3 separate regions of the Homo sapiens genome follow, and all the other regions are linked to region 2. Evidence: promoter capture Hi-C in 16 types of primary human blood cells and fetal thymus (Javierre and others, 2016). All regions are on one chromosome and are shown on one strand. Each heading gives the region's core, a stretch centred on a gene start or on the middle of the fragment in contact. The rest is flanking DNA. Distances are from core to core; before and after follow the strand shown.

Region 1 (4,404 bases), core at 664-3,163, 660 kb after region 2:
TTCTTAGTTATATATAACTCACCTCACAAAATGAAAATAGTGATGTGAAATCTTTTACAAAACTTGAATATGCTGTATGTAATATATTTGGTGGATTTTAATACTAACCGCATGATTTGAAAATGAATAGAATAGATGTGTATAAAATGTATTATAATAGGTTAGTACAAGTTTTAAAATTAAAAATGGCAATATATGTTTCCCTTGGTTATAACTTACTGTTTTATAATCAGGGATGATATAACATATATTTATAATATTTAATAATTATTATTGTAAATTGTTTTAATCCAGATAGGGTTATATTAAGTAAAAGTTTTTTCTTCAATAGTTCTCATACTAAAGTATTATGGGTAAAATGATATAGTGGCTAGAATTTGTTTTAAACTAACAGAAAGGGAAACAAGGATAATTTGGTGCGTATAGATAATAGATAAAACAAAATTGGCCAGTTGTTTAAATTTGTTGAGGCTGGGTGAAGGGTATATGAATTTAACTAGATTACTCTCTGCTACTTGTGTTTTTCAAAATGTTCATAATAAAAATTTGAAATAATAGATATAATTAACATTTGACTTCTGGATGATTTTTTGGCAGTGCTTTCTGGGAACCTGTTTCTCATCTCAAATAATACACATTTATAAGAGCTAGTTAAAGCTTGCCCACTATGAAGTTAAATAGGGCTGATCAAAATTTATAAAATGGAAAAGTCTTGAATAAGGTAGAGATGTCTGAAATATGCCAGCACCTTGAGGATGTGACTCATTGGTGAGATAGGGAAAATCAGCAGTACTAGCAAAAGGAAGAAGGAAGCTGATGAGGAAAGTGCAACAGCAATGAGGACTGGAGCAAGATGGATAAGCAGCAGTAATGCTAGTAGTAATGAGTTATATCGATGTGTGCAAAGGAAATCTGTCAGTCTTCCACAACATAAGTGAAAATGAAGACAGATATATAATAAGAAACACATAGTAGAGTTATGGTTTAAACAAATCAGAATAGAATTTTTGAAAAGCAAGATATTTCAAAACCCAGATGACAAAAGAAATGCATAGAATCTTGCATCTAGTATCCCAACGTCGCAAATTAATGCTTTGGTGAGATGAAATTAATACCTCAAAAGAGATTCTCATTTAGCTGTTTGTTTAGGAACATCTTTAGGAACAAACACTACATGCTTAGTGTAACTGTTTTGTACATTTCAAAATAATGTTCTTCACATTGTAAATGTAGTGATATATTTTGCACTAGAAAAAAATATAGCACCTTAATATCATAAGTTAAATCTCATACACCTAAAAAATGATGAAACCAGGACTTATATCCAATCACTTATTTCAGTGTACTGACTCTTACTCATGACCGTTTAGTTGATTAGAGATTCTGAAAAAGTCTTCTGAAATTATGTGCTTAAAAAGAGAACTCTTGAATAAGAACATATTAGTTCAAATTATGGGAAGGATTGGTCCTCCTGCCATAAAAAAGCAAAACTTGGCCGGGCGCTCATGCCTGTAATCCCAGCACTTTGGGAGGTCAAGGGGGGCGGATCACTAGGTCAGGAGATCGAGACCATCCTGGCTAACAAGGTGAAACCCCGTCTCTGCTAAAAATACAAAAAATTAGCTGGGCATGGTGGTGGGCGCCTGTAGTCCCAGCTACTCGGGAGGCTGAGGCAGGAGAATGGCGTGAACCCAGGAGGCGGAGCTTGCAGTGAGCCGAGATTGTGCCACTGCACTCCGGCCTGGGCAAGACAGTGAGACTCCATCTCAAAAAAAAAAGAAAAAAAAAAAAAAAAGCAAAACTGGACCATAAAACAAATCTCAACATATTTAAAAAGACTGAAATAATGTAAAATATGCTAGAAATCAATGATATTAAAATACCTACAAAATTTTCAATTATTTTGAAATTAAACATCAGAATTTTAAATAACACATGAATCAATAAGGCAAACGGGAGAATTTTAAATATATACACACATGCCCATTTAATTTTAATTACACCATTTATTTTGTAAAGTTGTAGATTCACATGTAGTTTTTACAAATAATACAGGTGAGCCTTGTTTAGACTTCAGTCAGTTTCCCCCAGTTGTAACATCTTGAAAAACTATAGTGTAATATCATAACTAGGATATTAACAATGTTAGAATGCACAACTTACTCAACTCTCTCCAGTTTTACTTTTAATCATTTATGTGTTTATGCAAATTTATCTCATGTGTAGGTTCATATATTCACCATGAAATCAAATTACAAAACACTATTGTCACCACAGGGATGTCTTGCATTGCCCTTTTATAATCATATCCACTTCTCTTTTGCTTTCCCCTCCTCCTTCTTACAACTGGGAAACCTCTAGTTCATAGTTCTCCATTTCTATATATATTTTTCCATTTCAAAAATATTATATAAATAAAATAATATAATATGCAGCCTTTTTAAGTTAGCTTTTTCCCACTTAATTATATTTACTAATTCAAGCATATTTGGCTGTTTCTGTTTTTTTTTACTATTATGAAAAAAGCTATGGATATTTGTGCACAGATTTTTTTGTGAACCTAAATTATCATTTTTCTGGGATTAATGGCCAAGTGTGTAATTATTGGGTAGTATTGTCATTGCACGTTTGGTGTTTTTAAGGAACTGCCAATTATTTTTTCCGTAATGGCTGTACTAATTTATTAATGTAACCTCTGCTGCTCTTTGTAAATTAGTGTTTGGCTAGTATATGACTTTCCACCCTTTAATTTTAACCAACCCATGTAATTGAATTTGAAGTCAGTTCCTTATAGACAGTAAATGGATACATCATCTTCTTTTTTTTTTTTTTTTGTTAATCCACTCTGTCAATCTCTGTCATTTGGTATATTCAGGTCATTTATACTTAAGGCAATTAGTGATATGTTAGAACTTGATTTTGTTACTTTATATTATTTGTTTTCTCTGTTTCTTATTCCTTTTTTTTTCTTTTCTTTTCTTTTTTTTTTTTTTTTTTTTTTTTTTTTTGCAATTGTGTAGATTACCTAGACATTTTCCTGGATCCTTTCTTGATTTTGTTATATTATATTTGAATGTGATTGCTCTGGGTATTGCAATGTATATATGTGAATTATCAGAGTCTGTTGGTATCAGCATTTTATTTGTTCAAGTGGAGTGGGAAAAGCTTACTTCCCTTTAGATTTCTTTACGTTTCCCACTTTTAAATATCATTACCTTGAGTATCAGATGGTATTGTAATTTGTTTACATATGATTAGATTTTGATTAGGTATGATTTATAAAACTCATATGATAAATTTTATTTTATATATTAATATTTCTTCACTTTTCATTGATCTGTCTTGTTCTCGAATTTCCTTATTTTATCATTTCTTTTTTAAAAATAATTTTCTTTAGCCAATCGTTAAGAGTAAGTCTTATGGCAACAAATTATTTTAGTTGTCTTGTATCTAATATATTTTCCCTTTTATTCCTACTGTTTGCCATTTAGATAATTCAAAATTAATAGATTTTTTGTTTCCTAGAAGTAATGTGTCATTTCTCTCAATGATTTCAAGACTTTTTTCTTTGTTTTTAGTTTTCAGAAGTTTAATTATGATATTATATTGATGTAAATGTATTTGAGGTTCACACAGCTTCTTGACTCTGTTGCTATATGTCTTCTGCCAGATTTTGGAAGTTTTCAGCCATTATTACTCCAAATACTTTTCTAGCTCATCTTTTTTCTCCACTCCTCCGGAACTCTGATAATATAATTGGGGGTCCTTTGTCATTGTTCCACAGGTCCCTGAGGCTGTGTTCATTTTTATCAGCCTATTTTGTGTTGGCAGTATTTTCTTATTGCTGTAGTAACAAATCCCCAAAATTTAGTAGAACAAAACAACACAGTTTTATTCTCTTACATTTCTAGAGGTCAAATATCACTCGGCTAACATCAAGGTTTTGGCAGGATTGAGTTTCTTCTGGAAGCTCTAGGAAGGAATACTTTTTCTCCTGTATTCCAGCTTCATTGTCCATTTTCAAAGCAAAAATCACATTTATATGACATCTGTTTACACCATCATATCTCCTCTGATCCTGAATCTCTTGCCTCCTTTTTTTCCTTTATAAGGACCTTTGTGATTATATTGAGTACACCCAGATAATCTAGTATAATCTTTCCATTTTAAGATCCATAATTTGATCACTTGTGCAAAGTCACTTTTGTAATGTAAATTTACATATTCACAGATTCCAAAGATTGGGACATGAATGAGGGACCATTATTCTATTAATGTCCACCCACTGGCTGCTAAATGTTTTTATTTGTCCCACATGCAAAATGCTTTCACACAACCCAATTCCAACATTCCTGAAAGTTTTGACCCATTACAGCATCAAAGTCCAAAGATCTCATGTAAATA
Region 2 (4,532 bases), core at 1,692-4,191:
GGAACTGTTCTAGTGTAATTTCTATTCAGAGAAGCTTGCTGCCTTGTCTTTGCGTAGCAACAGAAGATCTTAAAGGACCCACATATGTGATCAAATTGGTCTAAGGAACATTAATGGTGTCTGTGGCTTAGAGCAAAATGGTTCTGATTACGGTATTTGGTGTTGATTGCTCAGTTCACCAAATGGATTGCTTCAATTGTGTCTCTTTCTTGCTTTCTCTTCTCTTTTATTTCTGAGTTTATTTTGATTAGATTCTGGTTCTCACTTTACCTGATTTTAATTGTGAAGAACAGTTCTAACTCAATCCTGCAATCTCATTATTTAGCCTGGTACCCAGCACATAGGTGATGCATTGTCATCTATTTATGATATTAATACAGTTCTATTCAGTGAGCTTTCAACACATATAAATTGGCTATCTCTTTATGGGCTACCTCTATAGCCTACCTCCATGGGGATATAATAGTGCATACGGTCGCATGCCATTTTTACAACGTGGCGGGACACAGTTACACATCAGTGTGATAAACCTTGCCCATGTATAAACATGGGATCTTATGGGAACATCTTAGGAAGACGCTTCACTAGGTTGGGTAAGTGAATGTAAAGATTTCTAGAGAAAGTGATATTTAAACTAAGAGCTGGAGGAAATTGGTAAGCAGGGAGAATGGGTTAGGGATCTGGTGGAAGAGGAAGGGCATTCCTAGCAGAAGGAAGAGGAAAGATAGAAACATTGTAGATCTGCAATTTGTTCAGTCTGAGTTTGGTTGAAGGGTATAACTGGGAGACAGAGGAGAGTAATAGGAGTGTGAAGAGAGAAGAAATTAAGAAAAAATGTTTAATCAAGTTGAAGGAATCATTTTAAAAAGGAATATATCAAACAATACAATTCATTGTGAATTTTTGAGATGATTCATTTAGAGTATAAATTTTTGATCACTTTATCTTATAGACATAATTTATTTAATTCAAAAGTAAAGATGGATTTCAACCTGATATTAGCGACTTCATATTCACATGCATATTTATTATATATCCACTTCATTACAGTTCTACAGTCTGCACCTTACTTATCATTAGGGACACTTACCTTATGATAAATGGGCTTCACTAGTAGTGGTTTGAGGCATTATTATATATTCATCTATGAAGATTATAAAGCATCTATTAATTCATTTATCCAGGAACGATTACTTTAAATCCCGAATATTCTTCTAATGAGGCAGAAAATAGTGTATTTTTTCTGTTATTTTAATACTTGGTTTTAACTTTTAAATGAAGGCTAAATCAATTAAATTAGTTAATTTGATCAATCAGTTTATAAATTTGGCAGGACACAATAGTTTTGAGTAAAAGGATTGCATGATGATGCATACCGAAACCCCCGTTTTAAGTCTCAGTCCTTTGGCAAATATATTCTGTTCTTTCATTGGTCCATTAGGTTCTCTCTGCTTCATATAATGCAACTTCAAAATTGGTATAACATTGTCTATGGATGCAGCTTATAAGGATCAATGATTTAAACATAATTTGTAATGTTCCAAAAATAATGTATTAATTTACAACCGTATCTGAAATTTGATACTTTTTTGGGTGGTTTGAAGAAAAGGAGTTGTTAGTAGGCATTTAACTTTTTAAAAAATATTAAAATCTGTATATCGACTGCTAATGGATAAAGTTCATCTGTAATATTGTTATGATAATTGAAGCAAACTACTTTGTGCCACAATACACCCTTTTCTCTTTTGTACTTCATAAATCAATGATTCTTTATGTTTCTGAACACAGATGTATGCCCCAGGGTAGAAGAAATATTTCTCATTTGCTTTCCTATTTTCAGTCTTTATCACAAGTAATGCTCATTTTGCAGACTGTACCTGTACTATGTACACATGGAAATTAAGGTGAGCTTAAATTCATATAATTTTTATTTGTGACCTTACTCTTGGGGTTAGAAGACTAATAAAAATATCAGCCACTTCTCTTGTTTGATGGAGCTGAAAGGGAAATGGAGAGATTAATGAGACTGATCAGGATTAGAAAGAATGAACAAATCGAGTAAATTTCCTCTCGGGCTCCGTCTCTCCCTCTATAAACATTTATTAAGCATCTAATTTAAAACTAAAAATTGTAAAAATGTCGGAAGGAAACAGTTGTTACATACACTCCTTTATTATTGTGAACTGAAAGCAGATTACAAAGTTTTAAAAATTATTCAAGGATATTCAGTGCACGCAGTCGTGAAATTTGATTCCAAGAGAGGTACGCGCATTTAGCCCTTCACTTAAACTGTATCATAAAGCCACTACAAGAGATGTACCTTCCCACCCTCACGTAATCTTTTTGCAATCACTGCTGGCAAGCCAACATTTGTGGTGATTTCAGATTAGGAGCCTGGCATCTTTGCTATAATCAAAACCTTATTCTCCCCTCTCCGCTCCTCCACTCCTTACCTTAATGAAAGTGCAAAAAACTAGTTTTACTGGGGAGGGAGGCAAGGAAGGAAGGAAGAGAAGAAGGAAAGGAGGGAGGAAAGGGGGTGGCACAGACCCAAGGAGGGAGTGAAATGAAGGAATGAGAGCGCTGTCCCTTTTTCTCGCTTTTGCTTTAGGAGCTCCCTGCCTGCCTGTCCCCGCGGGTCGGGGAGCTGCACCTCTTGCAGGCTCGGCTCTCGGCCCCGCCCCCTAGCGTCGGAGCCCGGGAGCCGCGGCTGCAGCCTATCTCTTTAAATGACAGCTGAGGCTCGGGTCCCAGTCCGGGGCTTGACGTCAGTGCCTCCTCCCGTGCTGCCAGGAGTAGTTAGCGCCACCGTCGGCGCTCCGGCCTCGCGGCACGCTTGCAAGCTGCCGGGGCGGCGAGTTTTCTTTGCTTCGGCCCCTCCTCCCGCCCTCCCCACGGAGAGCCGAGCAGCAGCCCTAGAGCCTCTCGCAAGTCTCTCTCACACTTCCCCGCCCTCGCCCCAAAGGAGCAGCAGCTCCTTCTTGCCTCTCCATTGCCGCCGCCGCACCGGCGGAGCTCCTCTCTCGCGCGTCTCTCCTCCGATGGAGCTCGGGCGCCGCCGACGCCGCCGCTGCCCCGAACCCTGAGCGGGGCCGCCCCGGTCGGAGGAACGCGCCGCCCAGTCCGAGGGCGCAGAGCGCCAGGAGCACGCGGAGGGCTGGGGCGCGGGCTCCGGGAACGAGAAAGTGCAGCTCTCTCGGGTCACTGGGCCGGCGGCGGGGGGACTATGGCTCTGAAGGACACGGGCAGCGGCGGCAGCACCATCCTGCCCATTAGCGAGATGGTTTCCTCGTCCAGCTCGCCCGGCGCGTCGGCCGCCGCCGCCCCGGGGCCCTGCGCACCCTCGCCCTTCCCTGAAGTAGTGGAGCTGAACGTAGGCGGCCAGGTTTATGTGACCAAGCACTCGACGCTGCTCAGCGTCCCGGACAGTACTTTGGCCAGCATGTTCTCGCCCTCTAGTCCCCGTGGCGGCGCCCGGCGCCGGGGCGAGCTGCCCAGGGACAGCCGGGCGCGCTTCTTCATCGACCGGGACGGCTTCCTTTTCAGGTACGTGCTGGATTATCTGCGGGACAAGCAACTCGCGCTGCCGGAGCACTTCCCCGAGAAGGAGCGGCTGCTGCGCGAGGCCGAGTATTTCCAGCTCACCGACTTGGTCAAGCTGCTGTCGCCCAAGGTCACCAAGCAGAACTCTCTCAACGACGAGGGCTGCCAGAGCGACCTGGAGGACAACGTCTCGCAGGGTAGCAGCGACGCGCTGCTGCTGCGCGGGGCGGCGGCCGCCGTGCCCTCGGGCCCGGGAGCGCACGGTGGTGGCGGCGGCGGCGGCGCGCAGGACAAGCGCTCGGGCTTCCTCACGCTGGGCTACCGGGGCTCCTACACCACCGTGCGCGACAACCAGGCCGACGCCAAATTCCGGCGTGTGGCGCGCATCATGGTGTGCGGGCGCATCGCGCTGGCCAAGGAGGTCTTCGGGGACACGCTCAACGAGAGCCGCGACCCCGACCGGCAGCCGGAGAAGTACACGTCCCGCTTCTACCTCAAGTTCACCTACTTGGAGCAGGCCTTTGATCGCCTGTCCGAGGCCGGCTTCCACATGGTGGCGTGTAACTCCTCGGGCACCGCCGCCTTCGTCAACCAGTACCGCGACGACAAGATCTGGAGCAGCTACACCGAGTACATTTTCTTCCGTAAGTTCGCAGCCCCGGCGTTTCCCAGCACCCCTCGCCCCCTGCTGAGCCGCCGCCAGTTTGAGCCCCGCTGGAGGCCCCGCGGGGGTGTCCGGGGCAGGCGCTGGTTAACTCCTTATAGAGAGCGGCTCTCCCTGCACGATTCCCTTATGCAGTAGACACGATTTACATTTCACCGATTCGGATATTTCCGTCTCTACTCCCCCTTTCTAGAACTCAGTAGCACCCAGCTCCCAGCTGTCTACTTGCTGAACTTTATTGATCTTGCCTTCTCGGCCCAGCCCGCTCCCAGATGCCAGGGTCTCCTCGGTTGCGGAGGACAGGGTGGGAGAGACTGGGGCACAG
Region 3 (4,426 bases), core at 775-3,274, 680 kb after region 2:
CCAAGCAGGCATCCTTTACCTTGTTCACAACACCTCCTTCCCCTGCTGGCATCCAAAGCCATCACCCCAACCCTTCCATGGGCTGGGTACCAAGTGTCAGCTAGTTTTTGGGAATGGCTCAACCTGTATTTCTTTTGTCAATATTTTTATCGTGGTAAAATACACATAATATAAAATTTACCATCTTAACCCTTTTTAAGTGTAGAATTGTGTGGTATTAACATTCATAGTACTGTGTAACCATCACCACTATCCATCTCCAGAAATCATTTTATCTTTCAAAACTGAGACTCTGTACACATTAAACAAATCTCCCCATTCCTACCTTCCTCCAGTCCCTGGTAACTACTATTCTACCCTTAGCCTCTATGACTTGGACTATTCTAAGTATGTATCTCATGGAAGTGGAATCATAAGGGTTGACCTTTTTGTAATGACTTATTTCATTTAGCAGAACGCCCTCAAGTTTCAACCATGTTGTAGCATGTGTCAAAATTTGCTTCTATTTAATGGCTGGATAATATTCCATTGTCTCTGTATATAGTACACTCTATTTATTCATTCATCTACTGATGAACACTTGGGTTTTTCTCACAATTTAACTATTTTGAATAATGCTGTTATGAAAATGAGTGTGCAAATGTCTCTTGGAGACCTAGATTTTAATTATTTCGGGTATGTACCCAACAGTGGAATTGCTGGATCATATGGTAATTTTTTTAGATGTTTTGAGCAACCACTATAATGTTTTCCACAGTGACTACCATTTCACATTCCCACAACCAATGCACAAGAGTATGAAGTACTCGATATTATCACCAACACTTTTCTGTTATTTTAATGGTAGCCATACTAATGTTTATGATGTATTATGTCACTGTAGTTTTGATTTGCATTTCCCTAATTATTAGTGATGTTGAGCATCACTTTTTGAGATGGAGTTTAGCTCTTGTTGACCAGGGTGGAGTGCAGTGGTGCGATCTGGGCTCACTGCAACCTCCGCCTCCTGGGTTCAAGCGATTTTCCTGCCTCAGCCTCCTGAGCAGCTGGGATTACAGACATGTGACACCATGCCTGATTAATTTTGTATTTTTAGTAGAGATGGGGTTTCTCCATGTTGGTCAGGTTAGTCTCAAACTCCCGACCTCAGGTGATCCTCCCGCCTCGGCCTCCCAAAGTGCTGGAATTACAGGTGTGAGCCACCGTGCCTGGCCAAGCATCACTTTTAATAGTCCTTTGTCTATTATTGAATCAGGTTGTTTGAGGTTGTTTGCTTTTTGTTAAGTTTTCAGGAGTTATTAATATATTCTGGCTATTAATCTCTTATCAGATATATGATTTCCAAATATTTTTCATTCTCTAGGTAGCTTTTTTGTTCTGCTCTTTGTGGTTTTTAACACACAAAATTTTTAAATTTTCATGAAGTCATATTTTTCTAGCTTCTCTTTTGTTGCCAAATTTTGTTTGCCAAAAGGAAAACAAAATTTAGTGTTGTATCCAGGAAATCATTGACAAATTCAACCTTTGAAGCTTTTGCCCTGTTTTTTCCAAGAGTTTTATATTTTTAGCTCTTAAGTGTAAGTCTTTGATCCATTTTGAGTTAATTTTTATATATGGTGTTATATATGGTGTCCAGCTTCATTCTTTTGCACGTGGATATCCAGTTTTCACAGCACCTTTTGTTGAATTGACTGGTCATTCCTATTGAATGTTTTTGGCACCCTTGTGACAAGTTATTTGGATACATATGTAAGGGTTTATTTCTGGAATCTCTATTTTATTCCATTGGTCTATACGTCTGTCATTATGTTAGTACCACACTGTTTTGACTACCATATCATTGTTTTGTTGTGTTTTGAAATCAGGAAGTATAAGTTCTCCAGCTTTGTTTCTCAAAATTGTTTTGGTTATTCAACATCTCCTGGGATTTCAAATAAATTTTAAGATTTTATTTTAATTTCTGCAAAAATCATTATTGGGATTTTTATAGGGATTGCATTAAATTTGTAGATTGTTTTGGGTAGTATTGACAACTTAATATTAACTCTTCCAATCCATAGTTATGGGATACACTTCCATTTATTTTTGGGGGGCAGTATTGACATCTTAATAATATTAACTCTTCCAATCCATTGTTATGTGATACACTTCCATTTATTTATGGCTCCAATTTCTTTTAGCAACATGTTCAAGTTTTCATTGTACAAGTCTTGTTTAAGTTAATTGCTAAACATTGTTCTTTTTGATTCCCTTGGATGCAAAATTCTTTTCCTAATTTTCTTTCCAGCTTATTTATTGTTTATTGCCAGTGTATAGTATTGCAACTGATTTTTGCATGTGTTGACTTTGTATCCCGCTACTTTGCTGAATTTATTTATTAGTTGTAAAAGTTTTTCTGTGGATTCTTTATGGATTTCTGCATATAAGATCATATCATCTGCAAACACGGATAATTTTATTTCTTCTTTTCTAGTTAAATGTCCTTTACTTTATTCCTGATCTTATAAGAAAAGCTTTCGGTTGTCTCCCATGGAATATGACATTTACGGTGTTTTTTATTATACATAACTTTTTTTTATATTTAGGCAGCTTTGTTATATTCCAACTTTGTTTACTGTTTTTATCATGAAAGGGTGTTGTATTTTGTCAATGCATTTTCTGCATCATTTGAAATGATCATGTCTATTTTTCTACCTCATTCTGTTATTGCAGTATGGTATATTGGTCAATTTTCATACATTGAACCATCTTTGTGTTCCAGGAATAAATCTCACTTGATATGATGTATATATTCCTTTTAATATGCTGCTGATTTGATTTGCTAGTATTTTGTTGAGGATTTTGGCATCAATGTTTATAGGGGACATTGGCCTATATTTTCATTTTTAGTATAGTGTCTTTTTCTGGCTTTGGAATCAGGGTCATGCTGACCTCATAGAAAAATTTAGCAAGTATTTCCTCTTCAATTTCTTGAAAAAAAATTGAAGTAATGGTGTTAGCTCTTTAAATGTTTGGTAGAATTTACCAGTTAAGCCATCAGGCCCAGGACTTTTCTTTATTGGAAGGTTGTTTTTTGATTATTCAATATCCTTATTAGCTATAGGCATATTCAGATTTTTTAATTTCTTTGTGATTTAGTCTTGGTAAGTTTTGCGTTAATAGCAGTTTGCCCATTTCATCTAAGTTGAGTTTGTTGGTATACAATTGTTCTTAGTACTTTTATAATCCTTTCTATTTCTGTAGAATTGGTGGTAGTTTCTGATTTTAGTATTAGGGATCTTCTCTCTTATTTTCTTAGTGTAACTAGGTAATGGCTTTTAAATTTTAACAGTCTTTTCATAGAACCAACTTTTGGTTTCCTTGATATTTTCTATTGATTTTTTCCCTACTTTATTGTTCTATCTTCTAATCTCTATTGTTTCCTCCTTTCTGCTATTTTTCAGCATAGTTTATGTTTTCTGGTTCCTTGAGTTGTAAAGTTAGATGGCTGGCTTGAGCTATCTTTTGTAAAAAAATGCCTGCCACCAATTTCACTGCACTTAGTTGAAAGAGACAGAGAGGTAGCAATGTGGTTATAACATGGGCAAGTGCGAAAGCTCAGGTTCACACACAAAACTAGTCAGATCACTGCAGTAGCCTAGAACCCTGAATGTATTTTGTGTGAAATTTAAGTGAGCCTCACTCAAAACCACCATTTTTGGGTCTTGGATGTTCCTTGTGAACTTTACAAAGGCTAAGCCCAAACCAGCTCTTCTTTCTTACTTGACTTCTAGGTAATTTTTATCTGATTTCTTAAGAAAAGGGGATGCCGTCTCTTCTTGAATTCCATTATCATTTCATAAACACTATCTTACTCCATGTCTTGATAAATCATAGAGAACATAAATATAATTAAAAACTTTGGCTTTCGACTGGGTGCTGTGGCTCATGCCTATAATCCCAGCACTTTGGGAGGCCGAGGCAGGCAGATCACTTGAGGTCAGGAGTTTGAGACCAGCCTGGCCAAAATGGTGAAACCCCATCTCTACTAAAAATACAAAAATTAGCTGATCATGGTAGCAGGTGCCTGTAATCCCAGCTACTCAGGAGGCTGAGGCTGGAGAATAGCTTGAACCCAGGAGGCAGAGGTTGCAGTGAGCCAAGATCTCACCACTGCACTCCAGCCTGGATGACAGAGTGCAACTCTGTCTCAAAACAAACAAACAACAACAACAAAAAACAAAAACAAGAAAAAACTTCGGCTTTCAAAAATAAGTACATAAATGCTGGTTTTAGAAGTCATAAACTGGGCATTGATTCTGTTTTTATTGCTTTTGCAGCAATCCTAATTCTTCTAAAAGGCACGTGGAAGTCTCTGGCTAACAAAGAGTAGGTCATGAACAGAAAAGTAAACAAAAGTAAAAATGAACAGAAAAGTTTATAAAAA

Evidence for each region. Contacts are between HindIII fragments. The CHiCAGO score rates a contact against its expected background, and 5 or more counts as called.
Region 1: a contact is called between a fragment that was not itself captured here and the fragment with the promoter of KCTD8 in region 2, in 1 of 17 cell types (endothelial precursors). The highest score is 5.6, in endothelial precursors.
Region 3: a contact is called between a fragment that was not itself captured here and the fragment with the promoter of KCTD8 in region 2, in 1 of 17 cell types (endothelial precursors). The highest score is 7.1, in endothelial precursors.

Annotation. Positions count from the first base shown.
Region 1 is chr4:43,786,231-43,790,634 of GRCh38, reverse strand. No RefSeq gene overlaps it. Among named protein-coding and RNA genes, the nearest start is that of LINC02475, 230 kb to the left of the region's middle. The HindIII fragment of the contact is 2,508 bases long and covers 660-3,167 here.
Region 2 is chr4:44,447,218-44,451,749 of GRCh38, reverse strand. KCTD8 (potassium channel tetramerization domain containing 8) reads left to right here and starts at 2,941. Exons shown (of 2, transcript NM_198353.3): 1 at 2,941-4,187. The coding sequence starts at 3,227. The HindIII fragment of the contact is 5,511 bases long and covers 37-4,532 here.
Region 3 is chr4:43,769,936-43,774,361 of GRCh38, reverse strand. No RefSeq gene overlaps it. Among named protein-coding and RNA genes, the nearest start is that of LINC02475, 240 kb to the left of the region's middle. The HindIII fragment of the contact is 983 bases long and covers 1,533-2,515 here.